Linked DNA regions of Homo sapiens: regions 2, 3 and 4 are each linked to region 1. The links are contacts of gene promoters, found by promoter capture Hi-C in blood cells and fetal thymus (Javierre and others, 2016). All regions are on one chromosome and are shown on one strand. Each heading gives the region's core, a stretch centred on a gene start or on the middle of the fragment in contact. The rest is flanking DNA. Distances are from core to core; before and after follow the strand shown.

What was found. The method cuts DNA at HindIII sites, captures the fragments that hold promoters and counts their contacts. A CHiCAGO score of 5 or more calls a contact.
Region 2: a contact is called between a fragment that was not itself captured here and the fragment with the promoter of MEF2C-AS2 in region 1, in 2 of 17 cell types (total B cells and naive B cells). The highest score is 10.5, in total B cells.
Region 3: a contact is called between a fragment that was not itself captured here and the fragment with the promoter of MEF2C-AS2 in region 1, in 2 of 17 cell types (naive B cells and total B cells). The highest score is 30.3, in naive B cells.
Region 4: a contact is called between a fragment that was not itself captured here and the fragment with the promoter of MEF2C-AS2 in region 1, in 2 of 17 cell types (total B cells and naive B cells). The highest score is 12.4, in total B cells.

What each region holds. Positions count from the first base shown.
Region 1 is chr5:88,674,903-88,677,550 of GRCh38, reverse strand. MEF2C-AS2 (MEF2C antisense RNA 2) reads right to left here and starts at 1,333. Exons shown (of 4, transcript NR_146284.1): 1 at 1,288-1,333. All of the region lies in intron 1 of MIR9-2HG (MIR9-2 host gene), which reads left to right. RefSeq lists enhancers at 1,259-1,824, 2,262-2,361. The HindIII fragment of the contact is 5,913 bases long and covers 1-1,445 here.
Region 2 is chr5:93,615,946-93,618,593 of GRCh38, reverse strand. It overlaps ARB2A (ARB2 cotranscriptional regulator A), which reads left to right. Exons shown (of 11, transcript NM_032042.6): 11 at 1-869. Among named protein-coding and RNA genes, the nearest start is that of MIR2277, 3.5 kb to the left of the region's middle. RefSeq lists an enhancer at 1-460. The HindIII fragment of the contact is 1,708 bases long and covers 469-2,176 here.
Region 3 is chr5:93,599,693-93,602,340 of GRCh38, reverse strand. No RefSeq gene overlaps it. Among named protein-coding and RNA genes, the nearest start is that of NR2F1, 18 kb to the right of the region's middle. RefSeq lists an enhancer at 2,450-2,648. The HindIII fragment of the contact is 1,003 bases long and covers 819-1,821 here.
Region 4 is chr5:93,565,613-93,568,260 of GRCh38, reverse strand. The region is part of intron 1 of NR2F1-AS1 (NR2F1 regulatory antisense RNA 1); the gene reads left to right. Among named protein-coding and RNA genes, the nearest start is that of NR2F1-AS1, 14 kb to the left of the region's middle. The HindIII fragment of the contact is 4,981 bases long and covers 1-2,648 here.

The DNA of each region.
Region 1 (2,648 bases), core at 84-2,583:
TTGGCCTGAGTATCTGTGCAGGTAAGTCATTCATAAGAAAACTAATTACCTGTGCATGTACTTGGACTTGTTTAATTGAATAAGCTGCATGTGTGCATACTTGCTGTTCTTTCAGGGTTTGCAATTATAGATTGAGTCTTTTTTAAATGATAGCTTGGGGGAATTAAAAGGTGGAAAAAAGCCATCGTGCTGCATAGCTATATTGCCAAGAAAGAGAATCCGATCCTATAAACAAGATTACCATTGCTTGAAATCTAACTCAAGGCCTGTATATTTTAAGCCACATCAACTGGTTTAATATAGCCAATTGTTTTATTTGTGTATTTGCTTTCATTTCAAAGTCAGGAATCAAGGATGCTTTTCAGTCAAGATAATGTGCCTTGTTTCCAGCCATATTAAGATAAAAATGAAACTCAGTAAATTTTGAATGCAGCCAATAAGGTACAACATACAACATGGTTGAAAATGTCTTCCTTGCAGAAGGCTGTCCATTGCTGTGTCTACCCATTTTAAAATATATATATTTTTTTCAATAAGAAATGCTAGAAAGCAATAGGGCGGGGAATGCCGCACCTCTCAGGCAATCAGCACAAAAATTATTTAGAAATCTTTGGAATCACTTCACTTATACATACATTATCTCGAAAGCACTGGCCCCGAACTGTGTTTCTGCTAATATGAAGTTAATTAGACAATCAAACTTTGAGCCTTGAGCGATGGGCACTACAGCCCATCAAGGTATGTCAAGAAAGAAAAAAAAATGTGTATTTTCCTTTATGACCAAACCAGGAGGTTATACAGCTGGCATTGCATACATGACAGATGTGCATATTTGTAACCTTAAATAAACAGAAGCAGGGAGGTAACTGTGTATATTATCTAGCAAGAGACAGCAGCAGACACTCGCCAAAAAAGACAGAAAGGGACAAGAGAGACACATAGACATAATAAAATAACAACAATAAAAATCCTCCAAAAAAAAAAAGAGGGAAAGGGAACCAATAAAATGACAAAATCTGAAATTCTCGCAAATTAAAAAATGCAAATATACCTTTACATATGCATCAGTATTAAAAATAATACACGCTGGAACCAACAGGAGCGAGAGCAAGAAGAGGAGGAGGAGGTGGAGGAGAAGGAGGAGGAGGAGGAGAGGTGGAAGAGGAGGAGGAGGAGGAGGAGGAGGAGGAGGAGGAGGAGGAGGAGGAGGAGGAGGAGGAGGAGGAGGAAAGAATGGAGGCGCCGCGGAGCCCTGATTATGCATGGGCTGGAGCTGCCTCCTCTAACCTGTTCTTCTCCGAGCCGGGCAGCCGGCGGTCCTCAGCCGCCCACAGAACAGGAGCCGAAACAACCGTTCTCGAAGGCTACAGCGTTTATTTTTCTCTTTTGGGGGGTTTTGGCGGTTGTTTCAGGGGCTCGCCAACTGGCCCCTTTAATTAAAAGCTTCAATAAAAGGCGATCGCGCCAGGAATGCACCCGCTCCTCTTCGCGCAGGATTTGCATATTTTTTTAATGCCCTAATTTCCTTGATGTATGTAAATGTAGCCGGACGTAGAGGGAGACAGGGAGCTGACGTCAATGGACGTGACCTCGCAGCTAAACCTTGAACGTGAAGCCGGGATGGGGGAAAACACGGAGCGGCAGCCGGCGGAGCCCGAGAGCGCGGGCGGCGGCGGCAGTAGCCGAGCCCAGGCCGGGGTGCCAAGGGACCAGTGCCGGCCCCGGGGGAGGACAAGCCGCCGCCTTCTTTCTGCACCGCGCGGCTCTCAGACTCGCCAGCCTTCCGGCCGCACACGCAGACTCTTGCCCTGAGCTTCCAGCCCCACCACACACACGTTCTTTTGCTTCCCTCAGAAAAGCAACACTCCCCAAAACAACAAACCAAAATCAACAGATAAAACAGATGTTTTAGACCAATGCTCGGGTAGCTTATCAGAAAGAAGACTCTGACCACGGAACATATATATTTTTTGGCTTCTCTCCACAAGAAGAGGAGCGAGAGACCACAGACAACAGCAAATCACTCCTAAAACACGATAACTACAAGTGCTCCCTGTAGGGAGAGGTAAATCGCCCAGCCGACTGGTGAAGTCTTCTGGTTTCGGTACCTATTTACCTGTGCACTCATTATGCGCCTCGGCTTCATTAACGGCAGGATCATGAGCGCGCGTTTTAATGTGATGGGAGTGCTGTGTTGTGTGTGTGTGTGTATGTATGTATGTGTGTTGGGAGGTGCTTGCGCTAGTGAGCACCGAGGCAGGCGCTCTGAGCAGAGAGAGATCAGTCTTTCCATGGCCACGTCTGGGACTCATCTGCGGAGCCATCTAGGCCAGGGCTCCTAGATTGGGGTTCGACTTCACCCCATGTAAAAAGAGAGGCCAGCAAAGGCTTCCCCTGAACAGCCAGGTCCTTCCCATCGGATTGTTTGAGGAAGGAGGCTTGAAGTGTGAGCCATTCTGTAGCCGCCGCCTTGCCGGATTTGGCCTGGTGTTTTGCACTTGAAACTCAGCGGCCTCAGCGCGGAGGTAGTGCCTCTCCGAGACGCGGCCGAGGCCTTGTCATTCCCCTCCTTCCGCCCGCGGCAGCCCTGCGCGCCGGCGTGTGCGTGCCCGCGCACCGGACCGCTGGCACCTCCCTGTGCACATCCG
Region 2 (2,648 bases), core at 73-2,572, 4.9 Mb before region 1:
TTGATATAAATGTAATAATGTTCACCTCGATTTTCCTGGAGTAACAACCAGCGTTGGTAGTAGCCCACCTGCATGAGGACGGCCAGTGTTAACAATATTTTTGTTCTGATCTTCTTCCCCATTTTTGTTTCCTCAAACAGGTTTTTAGGAGAGTGGAGATTTAAAGTCAGGATGTGGCCTTTTTATTTTAATTATATACTTAATTCTTAGAACAAGTAGAATGGGAAAGGAGTGACTGATAAATCTAAGATTCAAAATAGTCCCGTCGAAACTTAAAGGCCAGATTATTGCTTTGGAGCTTTCTATAGGTACTAGCCATCCCGTCGTTAAATGTTTTCATGGATATTTGAAAAGAAGACCATGTACCTTTAATAACTGTTCTTTTCTCGAGTTTCTGCCTCGTGCTTTGACCTGGATTGCATTATTATTGTTTATGCGAAGTAAAAAAAAAAAAGGAAAGCACAAGCTTTTCCTGTATATTATATTTCCATTTCCATTTTAAAATAAAAACAATTTTCCCAACAACAGCGGTGTTATTATTCTTGCTCAGAAGAATTCTTGCTTATTCACCAATTGCATAGAGATTTTTTAAAGCAAAAACATAAAAGGAAGGATGAGACAGCATCCGTCAATATTTTAAACCTTCTGGCTACTTTTTATTTCTGTTAGTATTGCTGTAAGGTAATATCCTAACTTTAGTTGAGTCACTATTTGGCTTGCACCTTTTACAAAGCTAACATTTCTAAGACAGTTGTTTTTAATATCTAAAATATCTCCTTAGCAAGGAAATCTGAACAACCTATCAATTAAATTGTTGTTTTATAAAATACACTTGAATATGCCATAAATAAATGTGTTTTCCAAGAGGAGTCTGGTGAGTTTAAGTTGCCTCCAAGTACATGTATATAGGTTCTTGATGTACTGTGTTCGATCTGAAAATAACTTACATTTCTTTTACAGCTTTCTTAAAACCTTTAGCCCCTTTTAGAGATATGCTAACTGTATTATCCGTGCTAATAAGTTAGATTTTGTTTGTTTCTCTGGATTATCTGCGGTTCAATCCAAACACGTGTGTCTCTTGTTATAATCATATTTTTTACTGTAAACTGACAGGTTCCTGTTGGTGTCTGTAATCCTAATTCATTTAAGAAAGAGTACTACTACAGAAAGTGTAAAAATTTCTCAAAAACTTTCCACATGCCTCTGTGGAGAAAAAAAAATGTCTTTAAATGTGAGACACTCTCATCTTTGAAATATGGGTGGCAAAAAGGGGGATGATGGTGGTGGTTATTTTATTATTACTTATTAGTGGCCATAATAATATAAAATAAAAGACTCCAGGAGGTACTCCCTTTCAAAAATTGAATACTTTCCTTCCTTCCTTATATAGAATGACTGAGTGGGAGTCTCTTGAATTGTTCGTCTTCCTTTTATCTAATATTCTATTAATCTCCAAAAAGATCAGTTTGAGTCTGGGAAAGGGTTTTTAATCAACACTTCACAGAGCTTAAAGCTACCCTACCTAAAGCGTCAGCTTTGTTAGGCGGTTTTAGATTTAAAGCATTGCAACTGTCATGCACTGTACTAAAAGTAAAGAATGTACACCAAGTGGAAGATGTTGAAAAGAGGGGAATAGCACAAAGTCGATTAACGGAGATTCGAGAATAGAAGTAGCCATCAAAGCATTCCAGCATTTATCTCAAAATCTATGTAAGGTTTTTTTAAAAAAGCAACAATGATAGTTTTAAACCACACACTTAAGAGGGATGAATGTTGATTTAATTGATTCATTTGGATCGATGTTTTTAAAGTTTCACACTACTGATCTTTCATGTAGTGATGTCTTTAGCAGTCAGTGGTCTGACATGAGCCTTCTCAGATTTCATCAGTGGGACTCTCCATGACGTCTAAAATTATGCAACAGCCTATGCAATGGTAACTTTAGAATTGGGAGACCTTGATGCCAAAGAGCGTGATTAGATTGAAGAACTCTTGTTAATTCCCAGCACAAAGGTTTTAGAGAAGTAATAACTGTAAAATGAACCACAAAGGTTAAAATCACCAAATATTAAATAGTTGGCTTTAATTGCTAGATGGGAGAAAGTCATCCTGAAAGTTTGACCATGAAGTGGATACCACACAGTGACCACTATTTTCCCCTGGAATATAAAAAGCTTGAAAGTGGAAATTTGACTTAGTCCATGAGGCCTTCTAAGCAACTTTTCCCAGTCCTTCGCCTTGAGATTTGTGAAAAACCTTTCACTATATCCTTTATATTGTTGGAGTTGAGTTCTGTTTGAAACAGACATGAAGCATGTTTCTAGAAAGAAATCTAGAGAAGTCCTACATCTTTCCTTTTAGATCATTCATCTTTTTCTTCCTTGGCTATTACCTCGGGTAATATGGAGAACTGTCATGGGTAAAATAATGTTGAACTGTACTTTGTGGCCAGCCTGCAATACCAATACAAAGAATCTGAAATGAAAAGACAACCAACACCCCAAGAATGATATATCTCCTTTTAAAGTTTACAATTTGAATAATGAATTTGGATAGAAACTTGGCAGGAAAACAAACCATGGCACCATCACATCACCAACCATTTTCACTTTTCTGTCCAATTTCAGAGTGCATGTGTTTGTGAGTAT
Region 3 (2,648 bases), core at 71-2,570, 4.9 Mb before region 1:
ACAAACAGGGGTTAGTGAACAAACATAATGACCGGAGTACTTATGTCTATCCGGTTTACTCACTTAAACCCAAGGTATGTAACATCACGATAAATATTAATATCCACCTCGACAGACCCTCAGCACCGCTGTCCTCCTAAACTCTCCCTTCCTGAGCGCTGCCCTTAACAAAAAGGCCAGAGAGGAGGTTTTTAACATAAAATGCTGCAAATATGAAAAATAGGTCACCAATAAAATTGGTCTCAGCATGGAGCGTAATTGCAACAAAGTGCCGCCGAGTAAAATCGAGGAGTGAGCTGGCTGAGGCGGCACAGTCGCGAACCATCTGGTGTGTATTAAGAGTGGTGCTGTAAATATTGCTGAGAGCTAATGCATTATCGGCTTCTATAAGTGCACAGGGCCTCTAAGCTTTCCATATGTTAGAATATGTAGATCGGGTGAGAGCAAGGAAAGGTGTCTTATCAATCACAGGCTTCTAAAGCATTGTTTTGCCCACTCTTTGTGGATTTTTGGCCCCCCAAAGTGTAGGATATACATTCTCATTCTCTCCCCCCACCACCCTTTTTCCTCTTCTGTCAATTCCTCTTTCTCTTTTTCTCTTGCTCTTTCTCCCAGCTCCTTCCTTCCATACCCTCCTCCTCTCTCCCCTCTCTCCAAGGGGATAGGGCAGGCATTGCTGACGTCACTTCACATCAGTAAAAGAGAGTAACTGTTTCAGAGAGGAAGAAAAAAATCATCTGTTTTTCATCAGTACTAAAGTTTTGCCTCTTTAATAGAAATGGGCTGCCCAGGCTGAGTACTCCTTGTGTTTTGAAGCTTATAATCACTACTACCCCCTTTTGGAGGGTGGCCCAAGAGGTGGGGAGGTGTTCTTCATCCTGTGCGCTGATTCATTTTATATGTGGTTCTAATGCCAGAATCAGCTCAAATAGATGAAACTAATAAGGTGCAAAGATAATGTCTTCTAGAGATTTCACATCTACACCTCCTAGGCAACTTTTGTCAAGGAGAGTGGAGGGCTCCTGGTTCCATGACACTTCTGCTTTGAGTCCTGGAACTTCTTCCTTTCTCTGGAGCCTCCCTCCATAATTCCACCCCCCACATACCTAACCGCCACACACAGCACAGCTAATAAATTTCCTGCTGTCACATTACTTTTCTGGGGAAAACAGAGTCCTCCTTTTCCTGATGATACCCCACATCTAAGAGTTTACTATAATTACCCCCCATCTCCTCTGAACCCCTCTCCACATATTCCTCAGCTACAAGTTTTTAGTCAAATCCAGTGCTAGGAAGTTTATTTACGTTGTCCCACAGAGATCATTTTCTCTCCTTCAAAATTGGCCTGGTCTGTTATTCTTCCTACTTTCCTTCTCCTTCCTTTTCTCCCCACCTCTACCTCCTGTGCACATATAGTACAAACCTCCAGCACTTCTAATGTGGATAAACCTGCTGGTCATGACAACCCAAGTTCAATCAGCAAATAAATAAAACTCTTACTTTTCTTTTTTGGCTGCCGGCTGCACTCCCCCTCTGGCCGTTGCCTCCTTTAATTATAGGAGCTATATTTCTTCCCTGGGAGACATTCGAGGGGATTTTTAGTTGGAAACTCGTTTCTGCTGAGTTATTTTGGAGCCAGGACCAGTGAGTGAGTGGCCCGTACCCAGAGGCTTTGAGTGAAGTGCAGATTGAGACATATCGAGTTCCCTTTAAAAGGATCATTTCATGTGGGAGGCTGGACACAAAGTTTGCACTCGTGACTGGCATTCCAGTGAGAGACATGCATATTTTAAAACAACAAAGCAAGCTGGAAAGAAAGCTTAGGGGAGGGGGAAAAACTTGGAAAGAAGTTACTAAGTGACAAACATCTGTCAACATGGGATAATTTGTACACTCCAATGTAAAACTATCTGCCTAGTTTGATGGAGTTCAAGGAACAGGATCTGGGAGAGCAAAGTGGATACATATTTATCCCCGTTGAGATATGGCTAAAAGACACTTCTCCCCCAAATAGGTGTAAGGTCATTAAAACTGCATGATTGAGCATAATTTTTAAATGCTTCTTACAACAATAGAAATTTCTAAAATTGCATTTTTCTGATAGTTAATACAAAACTAGATCTATGTAATTTTAAGATGTATTTCATTTAAAGAACAATGGAGAGCAATAAAATAATGAGCAAGATGCTTATTACAGAAAACAAAATGAATTTTATCTCATAATAAAATATGACCAAGAGAAAGAAAGCGGGGTGGGAAGCTCAAACAACCCCTGATTGCTATGTTCTAGAAAGTTTTAACCGAAAGTACCAGCTTTACATGTGTATGTGAATCAAACATGTAAACATCCACCTCTCTTTGTGTAAACAAGGAAAAATGGCAAAATATTTTCAGAGAATTTTTCTCTCCCATTTAAGTTTGAAGTTTCAACAAGCATATTATACTTTGAGAGAGAAAAGCAAAAAAGTTCCCTCTTTAAGAGGAAAGTTTTTAAAAGCAGAGTGAAAGATCAGGCAAGATCCTGGTATGTCTTTTTTTAGGCACCGAATCTCCAACAACCACATGGAAGTTCAGGCTCCAGCTTCCACCGAGAAATCTTTTTCTCCTCCAGATCTGAAGACAAAAGGAGAGGAGGCCTGGTGGTGAGC
Region 4 (2,648 bases), core at 108-2,607, 4.9 Mb before region 1:
CCACATTTATCTTCCAACACTGTCAACTACATTATGAGCAAAATTATTATTTATCATTTTAAAATAAGTCATTTATTTATAATCTGACTTGCTTGCTGGAATTTACACAAGAGCTTGAATTAAAAATTTTAAGTCTTTAAACTTAACACAGCATTAGGAAGTAACATATATCTTAAATGGTTACATTTTATGTGTGAAGAAGTACCTCAAATATGGTGTACCAGGAATTAGTCAGTTAAGTTGTAGATTAGTAGGTAAATTTACACTTAGTTTCTGGTGAAAACAAGGACCATGTATAACACTTTGTAGTTGGATGGACAAAGTAATATTTATTTTACCCAGATATTTGACCATACTGATTAATGATGCTAATTATTTAAAAACGTTCATCTCCTATTGGTGTCAGCCAGCATAGATGGTACTGAATTCTGAAGATACAGTCACTGGCCCTTGGGTTCACCACACTGTGGAAGAAAAATCTTTATTTGACGAAATAGGCAATCAACTGAAATCTATCCTCTTTAAATAAACTGATTCCTCAGTATTTTCTCAGTGTTGGTGTAAGTTGTTGCCTGTGATATCCCCCAGGGCTCTTTTCCTCTGCTCTCTGATTTGGTATATAAAAACAGCTCTGAATGATGGATTACTGTGTCATTGCAGCCTGCAAAGGATTAATTTGTTTCATTGATTTCTCTTTAGGCAGATTGCCAGAATTTGCTGCTTCCCACCTTTGCTCAAGACTTCTACAAGTAATAGACAGTAATAGCCTAAGACAAATCAGCTTCTTCTTGTAAAAATAAAATCAGGAAACTAAGAGTCCTAGGAAAGCTATGGCAAACTTTTTTACTGGCATACTGAAACAGCAATCAATAGGCTACTTCATTTGCTTTACAAATATTTGTAATTGAAAATTTCCTTGAATTAGCAACATACTACATATCATATTAATAGATCTTAAGGAAGCATTTGTAATGTTTGTTCCATAAAAATTTTCCCTAATTTGTAAGGATTCCGTTTAACCCAGGAAAAAAAAAGGTGTTGTCTATGTGATTGACAAATACTTCTTTTTCTGTGCCAGATTTCAGGATCAAATAACATATCAACATAACTTTAAGTCAATTTACCTGTAAATATTTATAGGACTCTTTTGCCCAAAGAATTTTAGAAACTTTGGACTGAGAATATCAGATGATAGAAATAGAACTGTTTAAAGAAAAAATAACTTTTTCTGATAAAAGTAGTATATGCCCATAAGACAGAATTTACAAAAATTAGAAATGCCATTTTGTATAATAAGGTTTTCTCTAAACTTTATTCTTCTAAGCATTTAATGTAATATGATTAAAATTATTAAAGTCATTTATATTGACTCTATAATGTTTTAACATATCTACTTTAATTATTGCTCTATTAGACAACTCAGATGTTTAATTTTCATTTGTATAAACTAAGTTGTAATGAATAGCATTTTAAATAAATCTTTAGCCATCCCTATGGTTATTTCCTTACAATATGTTATTAAAAGAGAAATTACTTAGACTGAGAATATAGACTGTTTTTTAAGGTTCTTGATATTGATTGCCCAATTGTTTTCCAGAAAGGTTCTACCAATTTATACTGGTACTTAAAAAAAATTCCTCTGTAGAGGCAGCATTCTAATTCATGTTACATGAGCAAAGAAAACAGAACAACACTCTTTTTCTTGTGTTCTGAAAGCAGTGGTAGCGTTTTGCATATATTTAATCTGTCAGAAGTATTTTCCCAACTGCAGATGTGAAATAGGCTGGTTATACACATCTATTTGTTTCTCTTCTGTAGTGCTGAAAATTATATTGATTTAATGATCTCAAGTTATACTTTTTATGCAATTAGTTGTGTAGTAAAAACTAATATTGTCATGTGCTAATGTCTTTTTTCCTCTATTGTGCTATGGTAGTAGTCTATGCAATATCAGCAAGTTTATACTTTCCCTTTGCTTTGCTGAAAGGAAAAAGGAACATCTGTTTCCATTATATATCTACATCATAATGATAACAATTAAATAGCTATTATGGTAGTATACAGTAAATATATTTTGCTGAATGACCTGTACTTTCTTGTTGGAAAATTTCAGATATTTTGGAGGCACTTAGTTTTTACACATAGGTTCTATGTAGATATTTAGATAGGCCTTTGCTTACTTTAGGTAAATTATTGCAGTTCTTATTTGTTTCAATAAAAACAACCAGCCAATCTGACGATGAAACACTAGGCTACTAGATGTGACTCTTGAATGTATTTAAAGTACAGATTGTTAAGTATGTCTCTCAATAGTCTTAAATGGGTTTATCATGCTATTAGTAATAAAATTTATTTTGTGTTTTGTGCTATTTGTGTAGTACTTTTATATTTTACTAAGTTAGATTAGAAATAGTTATATATATATATATTTTAGCACATTACGCTTTTTTTTTCTTATGTTGGGGGACACAGTGATATTTACCTTTTAAACTCAGCAGGAGAATATTTGAAACCATACACAACTATTTTCATTGACCTTTAAAGTTCCAGAGAAGTGTTTTCATTTATTTTACCTTTTGATTAAAGATGTTTTGGTGATTACATAAAAAAAGACTAGAAAGTATTTCATACAAAATGGTATATGAAGA